Linked DNA regions of Homo sapiens: regions 1 and 2 are each linked to region 3. The links are contacts of gene promoters, found by promoter capture Hi-C in human tissues and cell types (Jung and others, 2019). All regions are on one chromosome and are shown on one strand. The core of a region is centred on a gene start or on the middle of the fragment in contact, and the rest is flanking DNA. Distances in the headings are between cores, read along the strand shown. Region 1 overlaps FAXC (failed axon connections homolog, metaxin like GST domain containing). Region 2 overlaps PNISR (PNN interacting serine and arginine rich protein). Region 3 holds the start of FAXC (failed axon connections homolog, metaxin like GST domain containing).

Region 1 (4,014 bases), core at 761-3,260, 79 kb after region 3:
TGTCTCTACTAAAAATACAAAATTAGCCGGGCATGGTGGTGCATGCCTGTAATCCCAGCTACTTGGGAGGCTGAGGCAGGAGAATCGCTTGAACCCAGGAGGTGGAGGCTGCAGTGAGCTGACTTTGTGCCATTGACTCCAGCCTGGGCAACAAGAGCAAAACTCCATCTCAAACACACACACACACACACACACACACACACACACACACACACACATATAGTCTCAATTAGTTTTCATACCTCTTCAATAAAGTAATTATTGTTCCCAAATTACAGATGAAGAAAGACGTTTGGGATGATAAACTGGCATATGGTAATATGGCCATGATATGCTCAAGTCTTTAGGGTCAGAGATTCACAGCAAGATTTTGGAAATTCAAATCTTACTATGAAGTGATTCACACATGTGTATGGTAATGAACCTTAAAGGATAGCTGGGCCTATAGGCATGTCAAGATCTATAGAGACATGCAGGATGTTTCAAATTCTATCTTAAAATTTGACCAAATCTTTGGTCAAATAATAATACTGTTACTCAAATATTAGCTTTTTACCATTTAGAGCAAATTACAATCAGGTAACATTCAAAATTCTAACCCTCCCTTCCCAACATGGGAATATCTATTAAGTAGGAAATGAGAGAACCCCCTAATTTCCCATTTCAGTGATAATACTGATTGAGTATCTCTTATCTGAAGTGCTTGGGACCAGAAGTGTTTTGGATCTGGGTTTTTCTCAGATTTTGAAATATTTGCATTATACCAGTTGAGTATCCCAAAATCAAAACTGGAAATCTGAAATGATCCAATGTCCGTTTCCTTTGAGTGTCATGTTAGTGCTCAAAAAGTTTTGGATTTTGGAGCGTTTCAGATTTTGGATTTTTGGATTTGGGATGCTCGACCTGTAGTTTGGTTTTCATCTTTTTAGACTCCATTTCTCTTGACCTATAAATCCTATCAGCCCTGTTTATTAACATAGACCCTAGTCAGAAATACTTTGAAATAGATCTACATCTACTTCAACGTCAGTTGGTTCCACACCCTTCTAGAACTTGTGTGGGGTCCTGGACTTCCCGTCTGTCCTGTTAGGGAAGCTTTGCTGTCCTAGCTTTCAGGACTCATCAGAGGGAAGAGGGTCATTTACCTTTCCAATGTGCTGTGATCTCAGAGTCGTTAAAATACATGTTTTGCTGCCATTTGTACTGTTTCTTGACTCAATGTTTCATATTTCTGTTCTTCTTTCCTTTTAGAGGAGAGGCGGAACAGCTGGTCTCCCTGCTCTCTCAGAAGCTGCTTGATTTGTTTCTAGATGACGCCACTGGCAGGCACTCATTAGATCTTTCACAGCTGGGCTGGTTCCCATTAGCAACAGACTTTTCTTTTAAAAACTGTCAAGGTCAGAGCAGCTTATCCTTTGGATAAAAGTGGATTTTGGAGGAAAAAAAAAAGAGGAAAAAGAACCAGCTTCCTTCCTTACGGAATTAGCGTGTTGCTGCCCCGTATGCCTAAGAGGTCTATTTTAGTGCCAGCGTTCTTGTTATGAAGACTTAGGGGGTCGTCTCCAGTGGAGGGACTGTTCGGATTGGAGGGTTACGTTCACCTACCGCAGGGTATGTTGGGCCTGGGCAAACACACTGGGTAACCTGTGCTCAACATTATATACAGGTAAATCTGGATGAAAACAAACATGAAAGGCAGCTCCGGAAGGGCAGAGGGTTGAGGGAGGGGCTGAGTGTGGGAGGGGGCAGGCCCAGGCCCCTTCCCCACTCTACCTGTTTCCAGGCATTGATTGTATGGGGACCTGGCTACCTCCTTCTCCACTGTCACAGGCCTCCTCCCAACTTTAGCTTGGGATTTCAAAGGAAGATGGTGGAAATCCTGTGTGACTGTCAGTCAAAAGTCAAATAGTCCTGATTCACTGGTGGCACAGCTTGGGAAGGGGGGTAAGTGAGGAGGAAGTATGCAGGGCCAGATTCTACGGAAGTCATCCCTTTGGAGTGAGGAGGGTGTTTGAGCAGGGGACTAACACAATGGGAGAGTATTTAAATAAGATTCATCTGAGGACATCCTGGATATAGTCAGAGAAGAGGCCATGGCGGAACAATGAGACCTGCTGATTCCTGGGGCTCAGAGTGAAGCTAAAGGCATGCAAGGGAGAGGGGATGGTGGAGATAGGGAGAGGGAGAGAGCAGCCACATGCACAAGGAAACACTGAGGCTCCTGGGATGTGAGGAGCAGCAGTGGAGAGAGAGATGATGAAAATGAAGGTAATGCTTAGGCTCCTACCCCAGGAGACTGGGGATGTAGTGATGCTGCTGTCAGACATGGGAAATGTGGAGGAAGGGGAATGGGTTTGCAGGGAAAATGGAGTTTCGTTTTAGTCACACTGAATTTGAGGATCCAGTAACAAATCACAGGCCTAGAACTTGTGCTGGGGTAAAGTGAAGCCACAGCCTATGAAGGGATAGTTAAAGCAAATAAGCTGGAGAGCTAGAGACAGAATAAAAATTACTAGCACCTTATATTTGTATTATGTTTAATTGTCTTTAAGATATTGTAACTCCTGGAGCATGTCACTATCATTTTCTTATAAAAAATGAGGGGGCCTGTAGGTTGATCTTTAAGATACCTTCTAGCTCAAACCTCCTTCCATCCTCCCCTGAAGTTGAGTACTACTTCTCTATAAACACTAATTCTACCTCCTGCTTTGCTGATTCTCATATCAATGAAGAGTTTATTGACCAAATCAACTAATAATAGCTAACATTTACATATCACTTACCAAGTGCTAAACACTGTGTTCCTTGCAAGCTACATATATCAACTCATTGAATTCTCACAACAACAAAATAAGTGCTATCATTGTTACCATTGTCATTGTCACCATTATCACCATCATGTGGCTCCATCGTCATCACCACCATCACCATTGTCACCATCACCACCACCACCACGACCACCACCACCATCCTCACCGTCACCATCACCATCATCATCATCATCTCAACAGATTAGAAACTGAGGCAAAGTGAGGTTACATAACTCACTGGAGATCTCATGCCAAGTGAACAACAGGGCTGGGGTTTGAAAGCAAAGAGTCTAGGTTTAGGAATGTAGCTTTTACATTCTGCACAATACTAGGTCTACACCACTCTATCTCTTCTGCTATCAGACCACACAGAAGGTAGAAGGCTGTGAAGATTGGGAGGTGCTTGTGTTGAACCAGGAGTGATTTTACTTCATCAACTTTTGTTAAATCATCCTCACTTCGTAATGCAGGGTTTGCCTTCTTACAGAACCCATGCAGATCTGTATCATTGAGAGGTGAAGCCGGCTGGGCTTCTGGGTCAGGTGGGGACTTGGGGAACTTTCTGTCTAGCTAAAGGATTGTAAATGCACCAATCAGCACTCTGAGTCTAGCTAAATGTTTGTAAATGCACCAATCAGCACTCTGTAAAAACGCACCAATCAGTGCTCTGTGTCTAGCTAAAGGTTTGTAAATGCACCAATCAGTACTCTGTAAAAACGGACTAATCAGCACTCTGTAAAACGGACCAATCAGCGCTCTGTAAAATGGACCAATCAGCAGGACGTGGGCAGGGCCAAATAAGGGAAAAAATGCTGGCCACCTGAGCCAGCAGTGGCAACCCGCTAGGGTCCCCTTCCACACTGTGGAAGCTTTGTTCTTTCGCTCTTCACAATAAATCTTGCTGCTTCTCACTCTTTGTGTCCACACCGCCTTTAAGAGCTGTGACACTCACTGTGAAGGTCTGTGGCTTCACTCCTGAAATCAGCGAGACCATGAACCCACCAAGAGGAATGAACAACTCTGGACGCGCCACCTTTAAGAACTGTAACATTCACTACGAAGGTCTGCGGATTCACTCCTGAAGTCAGCGAGACCATGAACGCACCGGAAGGAATGAACAGCTCTGGACGTGCCACTTTTAAGAGCTGTAACACTCACTGTGAAGGTCTGCGGCTTCACTCCTGAACTCAGCAAGACCACAAAC
Region 2 (4,211 bases), core at 1,486-3,985, 71 kb before region 3:
GGAAGGAAGTCACTTTGCAGAGCCCACGCTTACTGAATGGACAGTTGTGCTCTTCCTCAGTTAGGGTGGAATATTTACATAATTTATTTGGAATTCTCTGTGGGAGATTTGTGTCTTCCCTCACATTTATTTGTTAGTTTATTTTATCATATCCTTATGGGCTTGTGGATGTTTATTACATAACTTATATTATAATCCAGTACTTCTTTATTTTGTTGCTCAAATTGTACCAGCTTTGGCCATTGGCAGCTCTTCGAGTTGTCTACTGTTCTCCTTTGACATGTTCCTATCAATTTTTTTTTTTTTAGCACTTTATTGCTTCCTGGCAGTATACATGCCCCAGACTCATCTTTTATATTTCCTGTCGCAGTCCTAGAGTCAGCTATTTCTTTAAAGATCTCTGATTCCTTTTATTGAAGAATGGTATTAAAACCAAGTTCTCGTGCCTAGGTGTGCTTGTTGCTACTAGGGTGTCATTTTGGGCGCTCTCGCTACATTTATTTTTAAATTATTATTGGGGGGGTATTTATAACCGACTCTCCAATTCTCCAGTTTTTTTTTTTTTTTTTTTTTTTGAGACAGAGTGTCACTCTGTTTCCCAGACCGGAGTGCAGTGGTGGCACAATCTTGGCTCATTGCAACCCCTGCCTCCCGGGTTCAAGTGATTCTCCTGCCTCAGCCTGCTAAGTAGCTGGGACTACAGGTATATGCCACCATGCCCAGCTAATTTCTGTATTTTCAGTAGAGTGGAGGTTTCGCCATGTTGGCCAGGCTGGTCTCGAATTCCTGGCCTCAAGTGATGAACCCACCTTGGCCTGCCAAAGTGCTGGGTTTACAGGCATGAGCCGCCATGCTTGTCCTCCACTTTTAAAATAGTCTTTTGAGCTACAAGCTGCAAGTATTTCAGTATATACTAAAATGCATGTCACATAAAGTAGCAAAATTTCTGTTTTCCGTATTTCGAATGATTACAAGATTAATTTTTACCAGTGCCATTTCCACCTAATCTGAATTAAACAAATAAATTCTTTTTTGACTTTGAGGTCAGTCAACTCATGTAAGACTGAAATGTCAGGGGTGAAGAGGATTGTTGTATTTTCTGGCTTCTCAGCTTTGTGGTTGATTTGAGAAATATTTCATCCTATGCATCAAATGATAGATGTGTTTCTGTAGCTCTTTGATTTTGTAGTTGATGCTCAAGGACTTTAAAATACCACATTTTAATTCTCATCCATCTCTGTCACAGTCTCTGAGTGACTTTTGTAAATATTAATGATTGTCATTTTGGCCACACGGGGTGGCTCATGCCTGTAGTCCCAGCACTTTGGGAGGCTGAGGAGGATGGATCATTGAGGCCAGAAGTTTGAGGATAGCCTGGGCAACATGGTGAAACTCCATCCCTACTAAAAAATACAAACATTATCCTCGCGCGGTGGCATGCACCTGTAGTCCCAGCTACTCGGGAGGCTGAGGCATGAGAATTGCTTGAACCTGGGAGGTGGAGGTTGCCGTAAGCCGAGATCACACTGCTGCATTCCAGCCTGGGCGACAGAGTGAGAATTTCTCAATAATAAATAAATGATTGTCATTTAAACAAGTTGTTTTAGGACCTCAAAGCGATGAAGTTCTAATATAGATACATTTAAGAAAAGGATAAAATAGATGATGGCCATTTCTGGTTGTATTAGTTTTCTAGGGATATTGTAGCAAATTACCACAAACTGGCTGATTTCAAACAACAGAAATTTATTCTTCCACAGTTCTGAAGGCTAACAGTGTAAAATTGAGGTTTTGGTAGGGCATGCTCTCTAATGGCTTTGTAGGGGATTCTTGTCTCTTCCTAGCTTTTGGTAGTTCTTGTCAATCCTTGATGTTCCTTGGCTTATAGAGCCATCTACTCCCAATCTGTACCACTGTGGTCATGTTACATTCTCCCTGTAAGTGTCTTATGTCTCCTTTTTAATAAGGTCCCTCCTAATCAAATATGAACTCACTGTAATTTGAATACATCTGCAAAGACCCTATTTACAAATAAGGACATACTCACAAGTATCACTTGATACTCACAAGTATCAGGAGTTAGGACTTCAGTGTATCTGTTGGATGGGGACACAATTCATTCCATAACACTGGTGATAGCTATCACTTGATTTTTTTGCGGCAGTGTGTGGTGGCTTTGATGATCTGATACAAACCTTGGTTATTCATCTTTCTGTTCTTCCCAGACCCCATTTGTTTTCCAAGGAAATAGCAGTTCACTTTACCACATGAAGGGAAATACTGTTAGGAAAGTCTTGCAGCCTTGCCCGTCATTAATCAAATTTCTCCAAACTTGAAAACCCAAGCCTAACAAGCTTTAAAATTAAGTCTAAAGGAAGAGTGAATAAATTGGAATCAATTTTTGATATTATAAAATCACAGTAGCAATATTGGAATGTCATTTTCATGGTTGAACATTAATGTATTTACTTGCTAACATTTCAGTGAATTATAAATATTTAACCACTTAACATGGACAAAACATTATGGAGAATTTAAATTATTATAAAATGTTTTCTCTCCCCTAAAGAAGATTTTTGTTTGAGCCAAGACAAAAACATGAAAATTTAATGCAGACCCTCTATAAAAAGTATTATTGTATGTCATCTTTAACTTATTAAATGAAAGCTTTCAAACAGTGGTAAAGAAGAGGGTAGCAAATGCCCATCCTTAAATTATCAACATTTTCCAAATCATTTTTAAACCAACTTGTAAATGTCATTTTTAATGGTACAACGTTATGTTATTTTGTTAAACCATAGTGAAATTTAAAATATGTATCCATTGATTACTGTGTGTTGTGCCTGTGTATTCCTTCTGTTTTCTAGATTTTGCATTTGTTGGATTTGTTAGTAGTGAAGATACTATGGTGAAGATGAAGGAAGAAAGAGTAGTGTTCCTAAATCCTTGCCATAAAATCACTAGTAATCTTACTGTTTAATTAAACAATAGTTAATGAAACTCCTTATCAAGCATTGTGCTATGTGCTGAAACATATATAAAAGTTTAAGTATTTCCTAGTTTTAAAACAAGTCTTTACTACAATCTGTCTCTTTTCTACAAAATTTTAATGTAAGTGCAAATTTTGTTTTCATGACCAGAGTTACCTGTTTTGGATAAGATTATCAAAATTTACTCTAAATCATATAAGAAAATGAGACAGAGAACATTTGCCCAATGCATGAAAAATGATGCCACTTGAGGCCTTTTCTTTTTAAGAATGCAGTTATGGGCCGGGAGCGATAGCTCACGTCTGTAATCCCAGCACTTTGGGGACTGAGGCGGGAGGATCACGAGGTCAGGAGATTGAGACCATCCTGGCTAACAGGGTGAAACCCTGTCTCCACTAAACTACAAAAAATTAGCCGGGCGTGGTAGCAGGCGCCTGTAGTCCCAGCTACTCGGGAGGCTGAGGCAGGAGAATGGTGTGAGCCTGGGAGGCAGAGCTTGCAGTGAGCCAACATCGCACCACTGCACTCCAGCCTGGGCAACAAAGCGAGACTCCATCTCAAAAAAAAAAAAGAATGCAGTTATGTATAGAAAATTACTAAATTACAAAATCTTCTCAAAACTGCCAAGCTCTAGGAATTGGAAATAGGAATCAGGTATTTTTAATCTTTATTTTATATTTTTCTGTATTCTTTTAATTATTTTATTCTGTCAATGTGTATTTTTAGAAAAAATACAGATTTTTAAAGATACAAAGAATCAAATGAAGCTAATGAACACAGTCCATAATGACTAGTACAGGCAGTACAAATTACACAAACTTCTTCAACTGTGAGACATTGGGCAAATGTCCTCTATCTCATTTTCTTATAGGATTTAGAGTAAATTTTGATAATCTTATCCAAAACAGGTAACTCTGGTCATGAAAATGAAATTTGGACTTATATTAAAATTTTGTAGAAAAGGGACAGATTGTAGTCCCTTTTTTTCGCTTAATGCAGTTTGTACGGTAATACATGCCAGTATGTAGCAGTCTACCTTATTCATTTTAATGGCTGAATAGGAATCAACTGTATGGTTCACTCTAACTTATTTAACTTGCCTTTAATTTAATGTCACTGAAACCAGATGTTTACTGTTACAAAATATGCTGCCAATTTTTGAATTATGGTATGAATATTCACATTCATGGTTTAGGACCCTGCGGTGGAATTGCTGGGTCA
Region 3 (4,581 bases), core at 1,220-3,719:
CTCAGACTCCCAGGTAGCTGGGGTTACAGGTGCTCGACACCATGCCTAGCTAATTTTTGTATTTTTTTTTTAGTAGAGACACAGTTTCACCATGTTGGCCAGGCTGGTCTCAAACTCTTGACCTCAAGTGATCTGCCCACCTCCCAAAGTGCTGGGATTACAGGCATGAGCCACCCCACCATGCCCGGCCTGTTCTGACATTCTGATACCAAATATTTGTCCAACTCAGATTTGTTGTCTCCTCAGTCTACTCTTCCTCTTTTCATCTTATACAGCCCTAACAATAATCATCTTTTCTCTTCTATGCCATGGATCTAAAAGTTAAAATTTAAGATGCATCAGATTAAGATGACATTTTAGTTTCTCTTGTGGAATTTTATTTTATTTTTATTTTTATTTTTATTGAGACGGTGTCTCGCTCTTGTTACCCAGGCTGGGGTGCAATGGCACAATCTCTCCTCACTGAGACCTCCGCCTCCTGGGTTCAAGCAATTCTCCTGCCTTAGCCTTCCGAGTAGCTGGAATTACAGGTGCTCGTCACCACTCCCGGCTAATTTTTTGTATTTTCAGTAGAGACGGGGTTTCGCCATGTTGGCCAGGCTGATCTCGAACTCGTGACCTTAGGTGATCCACCCACCTTGGCCTCCCAAAGTGTTGGGATTACATGTGTGAGCCACCTGTGCCCAGCCCACATCTGCTTCTTAAAGATGTTCACTGCAGTGTCTCTAAAAATGTAAACCATATTTGAACCAGAGACCAGATGATGCTCAACAGTTGTCTGACACTACCAGGAAGCAGCAGTGGGCCCCTGGCCTGCATGAGTGGGTGGGGCAGGTCACTATGAGTGAGAGTGAATTGTAGTCAGTGGCTTTCTGGGATAAAAATACTACACTTCCTCTGGGTTCTAACTTGTTTTGGGCATAAGGTTTGTCAGGATTGACTCTCCCTTTTGCCTTCCATATTCTTCCACTTAAGGTAATTTATGCCCATCCCCATGTCTAGACCTAGATATGCAAATAATGTGATCCCAAATATCAAACTTATATTCTTTAAATATTGGCTCAGTGTTCACTGAGAGCAAAGACTGAGTGCTCTGTGGGAAGGGCACAGAAGGAGCATGGAGAATCCCTGGTGCCAGCCCTCCTTGTTCCCTCTTCCAGAGCACTGCAGCTTTGGTCCCAGACTTAACTACTCTGCTTCTTGCCGACAAGGCCAGGCAGCCTTCTGGCCTCTCTCCTTGAAAGACCGGCTGGTGACCACCTCAGTCACCCCAGGAGGCCGTTGGGTTTCACTCCTTGCAACCTACTTATGGGAGCCTCACTTAGAACCACACACATTACTTCTTCCTGGGAGGTCACATTTTCCCAGGAGTGTTTGGGGAGTCTCACATGCTGGTGCCTAGGCATCAGCTGACTAGCCCCTCCCCCCGTCTCGTTGAGGCGACACGTCCATATTTATTATTTATTAACAAGACGACCACACTCCTTGCCTGTTCTAAGGGGCGGGTGTGTCAGGAGAGGAAAAAAAGGGGGAGTCCTTTTGCGCCTCAATCTCTGCTCCATAGGCAAGAGCCTGGAGGTTTCTTTTACCCATCCTTCCACCTTGAGAGTGATGAACCTCCACGGCCCGAATCCTTTTTCAGTTCTTCCAAACAATTTAAAACTATCCATGCTCTTGTTAAAATCTGTGCATATATTACAAGCTTCTATTCTTTGTACTTATGAACTTTAATAAATGAAGTTAAAGGAAAAAAATACACTGAACACACACACAGTTGTTAGACAGATTTTCTAAAACAAAAGAGGGACCCCCGTCCCCCAACCGAAACCCTGTATCAGCGAGTTCCCTGATAGTGACTTCAAAGAGGAAAGACTTGAACTGGGTTTGTCAGAGAAATCTCTCTAGGTAGAGTATTTTGTTATTTGCCAAACCAGACATCTCGTCTCTGCGAACACCTGGTCAAGCCCGAGGTAATTGTGTAATGTAATAAGAGTGTTTTTATACATTATGCAAATACGCAGCGCTTTCCTGATGGCCAGAACAATCTGATTCCCGACTTTAATCCTGGCCCACGCTCCCAGCCCCCGCCTGGTGGCGTCTCCTGCCCGCAGCTCCGCGCCGCCCCAGGTGAGTCCTGCGCGTTCCCTACTCTGGGGCCCGCGGGAGGGGCTGGAGCGCAGGCGGAGGGCCGGCCGGGGTAGGGGAGGACCGGGATCCGGGCCCCGACTGCAGCTTCCTCGCGGTGGGGCCGCATTTCCAGGCACCTCCGCCGCCCTTGCCCGCGCGCGGCGAGCGGTTTTTGGGCGTGCCGCCCGGAGGCGCGGAGCCTGCCCGGCGCGCCTCAGCCCTGCAGATCCGGCCCCGGCGGAGGCGGCCGGACCGCGGAGATGCGGGGAGGGGGCAGGGCGCGGGGTAGGTGACTTTATCCCGCCTCTGTTTCCCTGCCCCGGGGAGCAATGACATCACGCGGCCTTCTCCAGGCGCCGACACAAAGAGCGGGGCGGAGAGGCAGCTGCGGGGGGAGCCGGCGGCCGCTGCTGCCGCCCAGGGCTCTGGGGCCCCGCCGGCCAGGCCCGCCGTCCGCGGCCAGTGCCCTTCCTCCTCCTCCTCCTCTGCCGCCGCCTCCTCAGTCGCCGCCGCCTCCTCAGTCGCCGCCGCCCGCGCCGCCCGCGCCCTCCGCGCGCCTCTGAGCCCGCGCCGGGCCGCGCCGGCCCCTTCCCATGCGGGCGGCGCGGGCCCTGGGAGGGGCGCCCGGAGCCAGCCGCGCAGCATGCACTGGGGGGTTGGCTTTGCTTCGTCCAGGCCGTGCGTGGTGGATCTGAGCTGGAACCAGAGCATCTCCTTCTTCGGCTGGTGGGCCGGGTCCGAGGAGCCCTTCTCCTTTTATGGGGACATCATCGCTTTCCCTTTGCAGGATTACGGTGGGATCATGGCAGGGCTGGGCTCCGATCCCTGGTGGAAGAAAACCCTTTACTTGACCGGGGGAGCTTTGCTGGCCGCAGCTGCGTATCTGCTCCACGAACTCCTGGTCATTAGGTGAGCCGGAGAGAGGGCCCCGCACAGGGGCGCAGAGAGGGGCACCTGGCTAGGGCAGGGCTGGCGCGAGAGGGGCCCGTGCCAGCCCCTCGGTCAAGCTGCCCAGATGCCCAAGCGCCCTGCAATTACCTTTCCCTAAAGGCATTTGTGGTCACCTGGCCGTGAGGGGCAGTTTAGAGTTGAAAGGAGAATTAAACCGGTGCTGGGAGGGAAAAACATTTGTCTCCCAAAATGCTCTGGGTCACTTGTCGTTATCTATTAAGAAATGGCCTTAGGAGGATCTAAGTGCAGTGTGTTTGCAACAATAGAATTGGGCCCTGCAGAAATAGGTTACACTTTTATGAAATGCCTTGTTTATAAGTAATAATGCTGGAATATTAACTGCTAACCTTATCTTTTACCTAAAGGTTAGTTCTTCCCTAAATGTCAACATCAAAAGACTGAAAAATTGCAAAAGCTCCAGAAACCTGCGGGTCCCTGTTAAAGATGCATGACCAAGTGTAGTGGTGGGCAGCTTTGATGCAGCCTTAACCTGGTTCTCTGCTTATCTGGTATTGAACGCCAAGCACCATCTTCAGGCTTAGATGTCATTGTTGTGTGAGCAGTAGGACAGGCTAGCACATGGGTGTGTTGGGCACAACACGGAGTCGCCCAGTGCCGTAAACAGTTGCATCCGCTGCCGCAGAATGTTTACAAGATTGAGTTGGAAATACCAGAAAATGGAGGCCCCTGCTGTTGGTACATCCAGCCGGGACGAGATTTTTGTTTGGGTAGAGTAATACCACAGGGCACTGAGACAGTCGTTTGGCTAATTGATACATCAATTAATGGTTAAAATTTCCATGCATTTGAGCCTTCCGTCACTGGAAGATTACCAGAAGCCCAGTTTTCAATAGCTCAGAATGTCTCTTTGCCAGTATTTTCTAAAGTGAGAGAAATGTGTCCACACTGCCTTATTCCAGTGGAGGAATCCTACACAATAGGTTATAAACAAAGACAGTGATAGGTGACCTGTACTAGCCTGCAGGGATCCCAGGAGATTATTGTGATGGCCTAATGTAGGCATTTGGCCTAACGTACATATTTTGAATAGTTCCCATCTCTGAAAGGGTGGGAAATCATTTAGGTTTGGAGAAATGTATTGGTTTTCATATTATTTAGCCATATTTGAGGAAGTTTATTTTAAGCTTGTTGCACATTTAATTCTCTCAACACATTGCCTTGAATCTAGCTGAACCAAACAAAAAAATTTAAAGAGAATTATCTCTCTAGATTATTTGTTAATTGTGCTAGTTTTAGAACTGTATTTCAAGTTAGATTTCAAGCTACCTAAAGAACTAAAACATTTGGGCAGTAATTTAAATGGTAACCCAGTTGTTTCTCAGTTGTATTCTAGTCTAAAGCCTTTGAGGAGATCCCAAACCATGAGGCTTCTCAGCAGTGGAGGGAGTGAAGGCTTCACAGGACCAAGTTTAAAACAAAGCTTAAATGACCTTGCAGAAACAGTGTGGAGCTCAGCTGCCACTCCGGAGTAGGCCCTGCCCT

The links. Contacts are between HindIII fragments. The study calls those that stand out against the background at their distance.
Region 1: a contact is called between a fragment that was not itself captured here and the fragment with the promoter of FAXC in region 3, in 2 of the 25 tissues and cell types used here (H1 embryonic stem cells and bladder).
Region 2: a contact is called between a fragment that was not itself captured here and the fragment with the promoter of FAXC in region 3, in 3 of the 25 tissues and cell types used here (H1 embryonic stem cells, hippocampus and neural progenitor cells).

The regions. Positions count from the first base shown.
Region 1 is chr6:99,268,351-99,272,364 of GRCh38, reverse strand. It overlaps FAXC (failed axon connections homolog, metaxin like GST domain containing), which reads left to right. Exons shown (of 6, transcript NM_032511.4): 6 at 1-1,197. Among named protein-coding and RNA genes, the nearest start is that of FAXC, 79 kb to the left of the region's middle. The HindIII fragment of the contact is 5,171 bases long and covers 1-4,014 here.
Region 2 is chr6:99,419,241-99,423,451 of GRCh38, reverse strand. All of the region lies in intron 1 of PNISR (PNN interacting serine and arginine rich protein), which reads left to right. Among named protein-coding and RNA genes, the nearest start is that of PNISR-AS1, 3.5 kb to the left of the region's middle. The HindIII fragment of the contact is 4,413 bases long and covers 529-4,211 here.
Region 3 is chr6:99,347,562-99,352,142 of GRCh38, reverse strand. It overlaps FAXC (failed axon connections homolog, metaxin like GST domain containing), which reads left to right and starts at 2,469. Exons shown (of 6, transcript NM_032511.4): 1 at 2,469-3,036. The coding sequence starts at 2,771. RefSeq lists silencers at 2,120-2,199, 2,260-2,309, 2,380-2,439 and an enhancer at 3,631-4,195. The HindIII fragment of the contact is 6,681 bases long and covers 41-4,581 here.